2 separate regions of the Homo sapiens genome follow, and region 2 is linked to region 1. The links are contacts of gene promoters, found by promoter capture Hi-C in human tissues and cell types (Jung and others, 2019). All regions are on one chromosome and are shown on one strand. The core of a region is centred on a gene start or on the middle of the fragment in contact, and the rest is flanking DNA. Distances in the headings are between cores, read along the strand shown.

The links. The method cuts DNA at HindIII sites, captures the fragments that hold promoters and counts their contacts. A contact is called where the count stands out against the background at its distance.
Region 2: a contact is called between a fragment that was not itself captured here and the fragment with the promoter of DEPDC1B in region 1, in 1 of the 25 tissues and cell types used here (H1 embryonic stem cells).

Annotation. Positions count from the first base shown.
Region 1 is chr5:60,697,656-60,703,074 of GRCh38, forward strand. DEPDC1B (DEP domain containing 1B) reads right to left here and starts at 2,511. Exons shown (of 11, transcript NM_018369.3): 1 at 2,391-2,511. The coding sequence starts at 2,438. LOC124900982 (a long non-coding RNA gene) reads left to right here and starts at 2,585. Exons shown (of 2, transcript XR_007058779.1): 1 at 2,585-2,686; 2 at 3,999-4,432. The HindIII fragment of the contact is 4,370 bases long and covers 831-5,200 here.
Region 2 is chr5:60,744,571-60,749,989 of GRCh38, forward strand. It overlaps the pseudogene KRT8P31. Among named protein-coding and RNA genes, the nearest start is that of DEPDC1B, 47 kb to the left of the region's middle. The HindIII fragment of the contact is 7,640 bases long and covers 1-5,419 here.

The sequences.
Region 1 (5,419 bases), core at 1,261-3,760:
AAATTGGCTATTGTTTTCTGTTTTCCACATCTTAGTTTAATATTATGTTCCTCAAACACTATGAAGTTGAGAACTGAATTGATTACCTGGGAAATTCTGGTGAAACTGAGGTGTTTGTTTCATTAATTATCCATGTCATTTATCTTCTTAACTTAATCAACCTAAATTTAGCCTGAATATTATTTGTTAGGGACTGAAGACTTCTAGAGAGCAGAGAGCACCTTTTTTTAATTAAACAAATTCCTTTGATAATATTTTAATGTGACTCAAGAATCCAGCACTATCTATATATGGACCCTCTGCATCCATGAAAAGAAGTACCTCATACAATTCTGTGAATATGAGACTAAAATACAATTCCAATTATGAGGTATTTTTTTTTTAGTCTAATGCAGGAAGAATGAAGACTAGTCACGTCAAGAACCACAGCCTTGCTATGTTTTCCTTGTGTAAGTGCTGTAAATAAATTGGTGAAGGGAATGATCAAATGCCTTATTTTCCTCCCTAAAGTTAGACTTATCAATATTCTTGACCCCAGATCATTCTGGTGTCTATACTGTATAGAGTGTTCGCAAAGATGAGTGCAATGATTCTTCCCATCCTCTCCACATGCACCTCTGTGGCTTTGCCACCCTGCCCATCAAGAAGTGGAGTTGAATTTCTAGAATCTGGATTTAGCTGTTTAACTTGCTTTGACCAATGAGATTTGAAGAAAAAGTCACAAGCTGAAACTTCCTTTTAGCTACGTTGGAACCATGAGACCACTACGTGAAGATGCCTCCGATAACCTGTTAGAGATATCTGGCCCAGGTAACAGCCAGGACCAAGTCAAGCAGCCATCTTCCATCATCCAGTAATAGCCAAGTCACATTATTTGTGGCACATGAGTGACCTCCACAAAAGAACCATTGACATGAGTCTAGCCCAGATTACTGATCCAAAGGATGAGCAAATAAAATGCTTGTCTTTATGCCAAATAAAACAATGTCACAGACTCTCCCAATCTCCTTATTATTTTTTTTTTTTTTTGAGATGGAGTTTCGCTCGTTGCCCAGGCTGGAGTGCAATGGCGCGATCTCAGCTCACTGCAACCTCTGCCTCCCAGGTTCAAGAGATTCTCCTGCCTCAGCCTCCTGAGTAGCTGAGACTATAGGCGCATGCCACCATGCCCAGCTAATTTTTGTATTTTTAGTACAGACGGGGTTTTGCTGTGTTGGCCAGGCTGGTCTCGAACTCCTGACCTCAAGCGATCCATCCCCTTAAATCATGTAAAATTTCATGAGTATGTGCCATGTGCAGTTTTCTGTGAAGAAGATCCTTAATCTTCATCAGATTCTCAAAGCGATCTATGAGCCAAATTTAAAAAGTAAAGACCCATCAGCCCCAACTATGATTTCTCTTCCAGAAGCTGGCCTTCTCAGCTCTGGCTTGACTTACTGGTATAGTGTGTGGCTGGCTTTGGAAAGAAAAGGAAACTCTATTTACATTATCTGTATCCCAGCATCCTCACCTCTTCCATGAGTCTAGCTGAGTAAGAGTTTGGATGTTAGTTCCCATCTTTTCCTGTGTATTCATTATAATGCATGGAACTATGAGAGTAATTCCCATGTTAAATGTGGCCAGAGAGGTCGGCAGACCAAGGAGCAAGTTACTGTCCTCCCAAATTACCATTACACTTCCACAGAAAGTCCTCTAAAAACTTGCCACAGACATTACCAAACTGTCACCCTTTATTGTTCCAAGTCAAAGCAGACCAAGTACACCTCAATACCAAAGCTTTTCTCCCAGAAAAAAAAAAAAAAAAAAACAGGAACTCAGAGTCGGCAAAGACTCTCCTAAAACATCTGTCCTGGCCAGCTCTTCATCTGGATCGGTGCTGACAGAAACAGAAACGCCAGGGGCCGGAAATGCGGCCAGCGCGATGCCCCTCTGTTCTGGGCACCGTTTATTCGAATACCCCGTCAGGTATCATCAGGTGTCACTCAGGAAGGAGACACGCCCTGCCTGGACTGCCGCGAACGCTGAGCGTTACGGGGTACGTGGTGGCCCCTCAGGTTACCGACCGGGTCGGTTAGATTCCAGAGGACAAAAGGCAGGGAACAGCCTGGTCTTGGGGTCTTTAAACAGAGAGGCGCCATCTACTGCCGAGAACCCAGTCAACATCTCATGGACAAAGCTGCACTAACCCCCGGCCGGCTGAGCTCTGGGCCCCGTTAGCCTTTCTTTGAGGCTCGTCCACTAAAAGGCAGCCCCAGTAGTCCCAGCTGAAATGCTCCACACCCGAGCCCCGCTGGCCTGCGGAAGCGAAGACTGACAAGCACTCTGTCCGCGCGCTGAGTGGGGGCTCGCGGCACCGGGTGCTCCGCCCAGGCCCCAGCACACTCACTCACCAGCCTGGTAGCTCGGTACGGCCCGGGCCCCACGATGCGATGCTCCATGGCGCGTAGGCAGCAGCGGCCGCAGCCGCGCCAGCGCTGATCCCCGCCAGCCGGAGGAGCAGCAGTTTGAATCCCAAGCCCGCGGGCTGCGGGCGCTGATTGGGCGGCGCGGCAGCACGTCACCGGAAATGCGCGGGGAGGCAGGCGTCTTCTCCGAGACCCGCGGCGCTGGGAGCTCCGCGTGCGAACTTGCCCGGGGCGAAATCTGTTGCCCACCCTGGTCCCACCGTGCGAGCACACCTAGGCAGGTGCGACTAAGGGGCCGGGGGCGTCTCCCCAGCGCTGGAAAACGCTGTGCAGCGCCCTTCCCAGATTTCTGCGTCCGCGCAACACAAACACACGCAACGCTATCTCTACAAAAGGGTCAATAATAGGTGTTATCCAGCGACCGAAACCCAGCTTTGGGCCGCGTGGATAAATACCTGTCCTCCCTACCAAGTGCACTGTGAGCCTGGAGGTGCTGCTAACGCTGGGAGAAGCGGTAGTGAAATGAAGCGAGGCGACAGCTTTTACCAGTGTAGGGACATTTAAAAACGGGATAGAGAGCACAAGGAGCGTAGACAGTGTGTTAAGGGCAATAAAGAGCGGGAAGGGAGCCCCGATTCCTCTTCTGTTTGTTCTCATGATAGTCTTTTCCCCTTTAATTTGAGTTCTATGTTTTGTATTGGGCTGATACTTTTAGTCCTCGGCAATAGGGTTGTGAGTCCTTTTTTGACTGCTTAGAATTTTCCCCCTGGGAATTGCTAGTCCGATTTGCAATCTTTCAGAGGGACAAATGAAGTAACTCCATATACTTAGGACTCTGTACACCTACTCAAATTTGGTCATCTCGGTAAGTACCCAGGACAAGACGTTGAAGGAGTGAAGGTGTGCCATTCCAAAATATGCCTAATTGGTATATTGATTATTTCGAGCGGAAAACATTGGAGAAATGGTAGTTTCAGAAAGGGCAAGCTGACCTGCCTCTTCGATGCAGCAGGCCACAAAGATTTCTCTGGGATGGGCATCCTCTCCCTACCACGGTGAGAAAATAGCCTTTATCACCAAAGGCTTGGAATTGAAGGCTGCAGTGGACCTGAATAAACATTCTTAACGAAGTAACCCTATCTTCCACTAGGAGATATAGGAGATTTTTTACATATATCTTCTAGTGACTCCCTAGAAAATGTTACTGCCTTTGTGAGCTGTGGAAGTTAACTCGAGTCACAGGGCACCAAAATATGTTAGCAGCTGCCCATATCCGAGACACGGCCCCAAAGTATGTTACAGGCAGTGAATTCCTACAGATCTGCAGCAACCTCAATTCTTGACTCCTCAGAAGAAAGAGTTCGACTGAGGGGCATAAGGCAAAAGGAGAGACCAAGGCAAGTATTAGAACAGAAGTGAAGTTTATTAAAAAGCTTTGAATGAAAGGAAGTACACTTGGAAGAGGGCCAAGCCAGTGACTTGAGAGATCTAGTGCGTAGTTTGACCTTTTGACCTGGGGTTTTATACGTTGGCATACTTCTGGGGTCTTGCTTTTGGGGCTTTGCATTACTTCTCTCCTGATTCTTCCCTTAGAGTGAGCTGTCCACAGGCGCATACTTGAGCCCACTTGCCCAACTCCTAAGATCTTATCGGGAAGCTGCTGATCAACAGTTCAAGTGTTTTCTATTAGGAGACTGCCTTTCCCTGGTGCCGGCTGTGACCAACTATTATTTTAGAGAGACAATTAACAACCACCTGACCATCACCTGATGGCTGCCTGACATTCCTGATGTGTGTGTGTATGAGGGGGAGCCCTCTCCTGCCCTGCTCATGCCTGACTAGCTACCTACTGTAACACCTTAACCAGATTTTCTTTGTCATGGCTTTTCTTCTCAAATTTATCTCTCTTTACCTAAAAAAATGAATAAAAGCATCTTACTTTGGCCACTTCTTCAGACTTCACTCTCTTGTGAAGATCCCCATGTGCACATAAAACTAATAAAATGTGTATACTTTTCTCCTGGTAATCTTCCTGGTGTCAGTGTGGTTTCTAGATACAACTGGAGAGCTCATTAAGAGGTAAAAGGGAGCTTGGAGGTGATCTCTGGCTCCCCTATAACATCATAAGAAAGATCTAAGTAAGGGATTGGACCACCTCTTCTCATCCTCAAAACCACACCACTACCACCACCCATTTGCTGCCTTAGGTTTTTATTTAGCCCAAGAAATGTCCTGAGATGATACATATATATTGCTTTTGTAATTAGAAAAAGCAATTTAAAATTTTTTTCTTACTTCCAGTAAGTGAATCCTTATCAGAACTTTTTTTCTTTTAACCTCTAAGCTCCATGGAAGAGATCTTCTTGTCCTTGGCAAGGAATATAAAGAGATACTTGTGTCCTTGACACAAGAAGCAGGAGAAAGGGAATTTTAAAGCCTTGTCTGAGACCTGCCACCACCTATCATGGTGGTGAAACTAGAATCTGATACAAAACATTATGTCCAGCATTATGCAGCTTTCTAGTTCGGTAAGTATCACAGACTGTGAAATTCCATAGATCTGGATTTCAATAATGACTGGTACTGCTTACCAGTGGAGTGACTTCAAGCTAATTATTTAATTTCCATCTACTCACTGGTAAACTGGGAATATTAATGATTATCTTGCAGAGTTGTAAGGATGTATGTAAAGTGCTAAATATAGTGCCCAGCATGTATTTAAAGTGCCCAGCATATAGCAGTAATAAAAAGAACTATATATTTTTTTAAAAAAATCATGCCAGCTTCTTGAGCATTTCCCAAGAGCCTGTTATTAGCCATAGACAAGATGGCTGTTACTAGAAAGGCATACTTCCAAAGGATCTACATATCAGAAGACACAAAGAGTCATTGCACGGGCCAGGGACATCTCCCCAACGCTGGACAATGCTGTGCAGCACCCTTCCCAGACTTCTGCACTCACGCAACACAAACACACACACTATTTCTCTACAAAAGGGTCAATAAAATGGTGT
Region 2 (5,419 bases), core at 1,733-4,232, 47 kb after region 1:
ATTGATGTAGCTCTCAAACATGTTGTCCATGTTGCTCCGAGCCATCTTCTCCTGCTGCAGGAGGCTCCAGTTGGTCTCCAGCATCTTGTTCTGCTGCTCCAGGAACTGTACCTTGTCTATGAAGGAGGCAAACTTGTTGTTGAGTGTCTTGATCTGGTTCTTCTCCTGGGTGTGGTCTCCTGGATGCTGGAGTCCATCTCCAGTTAAGGGAGTTCAGCAGGCTCTGGTTGACCGTGACAGCGGTGATGCCTTCCATGCCACTGGCCCCATTAAAGCCTCTGCCCAGGCCACCCCGGAAGCTGCTGCTGCCCACTTAAGAGAAGCTCGAGGAGTTGATGCGGGCACCGGGCCCACATGGTGGACACCTTGTAGGACTTCTGGGTCATCCTGATGGACATGGTGGAGGCAGGAGTGGAGGCAGGTGGCCTGAACCAGGCAGAGATTCCAGAAGGAGAGGACAAGCTGCTTCTTGGTATTTATTTATTTATATTTTAAATTCAAGGGAACATGTGCAGGTTTGTTATACAGGTAAACTTGTGCCACGGGGGTGTGTTGCATAGACTGTTTCATCACTCAGGTATTAAGCCTAGACCCTTTCATTATTTTTCCTGATCCTCTCCCTTCTCCCAGACTTCAGCCTTAGACCCCAGTGTCTGTTGTTCCCTCTATATGTCCATGTGTTCTCATCATTTAGCTTTCACTTATAAGTGAGAACATATGTTGTTTGCTAAGGATAATAGCCTCCAGCTCCATCCAGGTTCCTGCAAAGGGCATGATCTTGTTCTTTGTTATGGCTGCATGTATTCCATGGCGTTATCTGTGCCACACTTTCCTTATTCAGTCTACCATTGGTGGGCATTTAGGTTGATTCCATGTCTTTACTACTGTGAATAGTGCTGGAGTGAACATACGTGTGCACGTGTCTTTATGATAGAATGATTTATATTTCTTTCAGTATATACCCTGTAAAGGGATTGCTGGATCAAATGGTAGTTCTGTTTTTAGCTCTTTGAGGAATCACCACATAGCTTTCTACAGTGGTTGAACTAATTTACACTCCCACCAACAGTGTATAAGCATTCTTTTTCTCTGCAACCTTGCCAGCATCTGTTTTATTTCTTGACTTTTTAATAATAGTCATCTGACTGGTGTGACATGAAATCTCACTGTGATTTTGATTTATATTTCTCTAATGATCAGTGATGTTGAGCTTTTTTTCATGTGCTTTCTGGCTTCATGTATGTCTTCTTCTGAAAAGTGTTCATGTCCTTTGCCCACTTTTTAATGTTTTTTTTCTTATAAATTTGTTTAAGTTCCTTATAGATGCTAGATATCAGACCTTTGTTAGATGCATAGTTTCTAAAAATTTTCTCTCATTCTATAAACTGTCTATTTATGTTCTTGATAGTTTCTTTTGCTGTACAGAAGCTCTTTAATTATATCCCATTTGTCAATTTTTGCTTTTGTTGCAATTGCGTTTGGCATCTTTGTCACGAAATCTTTGCCTGTTCCCATGTCCAGAATGGTATTACGTAGGTTGTCCTTCAGGGTTTTTATAGTTTGGGGGTATACATTTTAGTCTTTAGTCCATCGTATGTGGTATAAGGAAAAGGTCCAGTTTCTACTGTCTCTACTAAAAATACAAAAATTAGCCAGGTATGATGGCAGGTGTCTATAATCCCAGCTACTCAGGAGGCTAAGGCAGGAGAATTGCTTGTACCCGGAAGGCAGAGGTTGCTGTGAGCTGAGATTGCGCCTCTGTACTCCAGCCTGGATGACAGAGCGATACTCCGTCTCAAAACAAACAAACAAGCAAACAAACAAAAACTATTTGTTTAACAGCAGAATATCTGACTTGACTTGTTTGCATGTTTGTTGCCCTCTATCCAAGCGAAAATCTCTGTGGGGATTGGTATTATTTGACTTCATTTTTATATTCTAGCACAGCAGTTGGCATATAGTAGGAGTTTAACAAATTGTTGAATGATTGACTAAACCACTAAAGAGTGAGCAGAGGAAGAGAATTTATAACAATAGCACATACTTATTCAGTGCTTCGTTCATTCATTCATTCATTCAACAACAGTTATTGAACTCCCGTAATATGCCAGCCATTGTTCTAGGCACTTGCAGTGAACAAAATAGACAAAATCATCTACCCTTGAAGAGATTACTTTCTCATGAGGAAGACAGTCAATAAATAACATTAATAGTAACTAAATGCATTGTATAGCATGTTAGAAGGTAATAAGTGCTGTATAGGAAAAAGAAAGATGAGGGTGCAGGCTGCAGTACTGAAAAAGTGAGATTTGAACAAAGGAGGGAATTGAAGGGTTTAGCCAAGCAGTTATTTTGGGAACAGTCCCTTAGGCAGAGAAAAATAAATGAAGAACCCTAAGATGGAAATGCACTTACAATGGTCCAGTGACCAGCAAGGAGGCCAGTGTGGCTGGAGCAGAGGGAACAAAGTGGGGATTGGTAGGCGGTGAGGACAGAGAAGCAATGACAGGGTTTTTACGCTCAGTGAAACCAGAAACCACTGTAGGGTTCGGAATAAAAGAGTTACATGATCTGATTTATATTAAGAGATGACTTTGGCTGCTATTTGGACAAGAAGTTTTAGGGAAGCAAAGGCAGAAACAGAGAGTCACACAGGAAGCTATTCCAGGAATCCCGGCATGAGATGATAAGGGCCCAGGATTGGTCAGATTCTGGTTATACTTTGAGAGGAAGCCAGCAGGATTTCTTGTTGGATTTGGCGTTGAGTGAGACAGAAAGGACCTGAGGATGACTCTGAGGTTTTTAGCCTGAATAACTGGAAGGAAAGCACTGCTCTAAAAGTTTTCCCTGTTTTAACTCATCTAATATCCCACAATAACTGGATAAAGAAGTATTGTTTCCATTTTCAGTTGGGACACTAAGAGACAGAGAAGCTGTCCAGGTTATAGCGCTAGCAAGAAACAGAGTCAGGATTTGACCAGGCAGGCTGGTTCCAGAGCCTGTGCTCCCAACCAGTGCACCACGCTTCCTCTCCATGACAGCATCTAGTAGGATGAAAGGCTTTTTATACAGGGATAATATAATAATATTATAATCTAGGCAAATATTATTATAATATAATCTAGACTATATTATAATCTAGGATAATATTATAATCTAGGAAAAATTATTCGGGTCTGAACAAGGAGGGTTGCCACAAGAATAAAAAGAAAGGCATACTTTCATGGGCAAGATAACCCAAAATGGGCAAAAGACACACTGACCAGAATTTGTGCAACTTTTAAGATAGAAGGCACAAGAGGGCTCCTGTCCGTAATCCCAGTGCTTTGAGAGGCTGAAGTGGGAGAATCGTTTGACGCTAGGCGTTCAAGACCAGCCTGGGCTACATAACAAGATCTCGTCTCTACAAAAGATAAAAAAAATTATCCAGGCATGTTGCCACTCCGGAAGCTGAGGCAGGAAGATTGCTTGAGCCCAGTAGTGTGAGGTTACTGTGAGCTATGAAGGTGCCACTGTGCTCCAGCTGGGGCAACAGAGGAAGACCCATCTCTTATAAAAAAAATAAAAGGAACACAGTAGCTCCGAGTTTACATCTCCACATTCAAATACTCAGATGCTTATATCATTCTTATTTAAGTTGTAAGGACTATGTACAGAGTGTCCTTTTGTGTGGCCTGGGCACTTAGAGATACTTACCTCATATCAAGCTTTCTCCCTTTAGTAACCAGAGTACATCCCAAACTAATTGAATCCTGTAGGTCCTAGAATACAAACAAGGTGCAGCAATGTTTTAATAATGCTGTAGTTTGAATATAGGCAAAAATGTTCATATTTAGATTTGAAGAGTGTTATAGTTTGTAACTTTGTTGAGTTATAGGTACATGTGCAGCCTGACCTGATACTGGCTGTCAATAAAAAGTATGAACATGCCCAGCCAGTGCCAGGAAAGTAAGAGCCCTTTGGCCCTCTCTCTGGGGCAGCCTGGTATAAAAGACATGTTTTGTGTCCTGTTATATTGTGGTTGTATCTGCTAGAAACATCTGGAGGAATTTCTATCTCCACCCCGTCCCCAATCATCATGTATCTTATGCTGCCTGAAACAAAGAGAACCATAACCCTTGCTCTCATTTAATCTAGGGACCTACCTTAAACTCCACACTCAAATCTGAGTCTATTTCTCTGTGCAAGGGGCCACTTTCTTAGTGAAAAAATAAAACGGCACTTACTTTCACCTACAGAACTAGTCAATACAAACCAGAACTGTGTGAATTAAAGATAGGCTTTAACTCTTCTAAAGAGAAAAATAAGTATTCCTGTCTATTTTAGGTAATACTTTGTGTGGCAGACTGTATTTTCCAAGTACAATATTTCTCCCATCCTACATGTACTTACGAGGTAGCTTTTACACTCTTCCCATTGAGGGACATGGTCTGTGTCCTCTCCTCTTGAAAATGGGTGGGCTTTTGTACAGGTGAAGTGATATTCCCTGACTTCTATGGCTAGGTTATAAAAGGCAATACTGCTTCCATTTTGTTCACTGGAATGCTTACTCCTGAAGCCTTTGGTCTGACTTCCCTGAGACTGCCATGCTGTGAGGAAGCTCAAAGTAGCCCAAGGGGAAAGACCACACAGAGAGGACTTGAGACTACACAGAGATCTCCAGCCATCCCCCACTGCCTCAACCTCCTGGTTCCTGGTTAAGCCACAGTCTGACTGCAATTGCGCCAGGGACCCCAAACAATAACCACTCGGCTTCTCAAATCATTGATCCTTCAAAGTGGTAAGAGATGTAGCCTTGATGTAGCTGTAAGTCATCAAATTTAGGGGTGATTTGTTAGTCAATAATAGACAAACTGTAACAGCTTGAGAAACAACAATACTATTTATATAAAGATAACAAAGGCTATACAAATAGTATACTGATGGAAAAATATATGCTAAATATATACACTGAATTATAATATATAGACTATATATTTTAAATTATATTAGTGTATCAATCATTTTGAATGAATCTATTATATATAATACATTATATATAACTTATGTGTATATATATTCATCCAGAAGTAATGATTTAATCATTTGCTGATGCCAGGCACAGTGCTGGCCCTAAATAAGAGTGTTCAATCACTTTTCCATTTAGACACTTGAAGAATTATATGTACTTCTGTGCAAAATAATGGCCCATCATGGTGATGGATTCTCAGTGGGTGAGGTTACATCAGGTGCTTACTCAAACGTCATCTTACCTTCTTTCTTACTAATAGAATCTAATTTTGTTGGAGATGACAATGTGCCCATCTAGAAAATTAGTTCACAGCTTCTCCTGCAGCCAGAAATGGCCATGAGGCAGTTTTGACCATTGAGATGTAAGTGGAAGTTGTTGTGTGGGACTCCTGGGAAAGTCCTTTAGAAG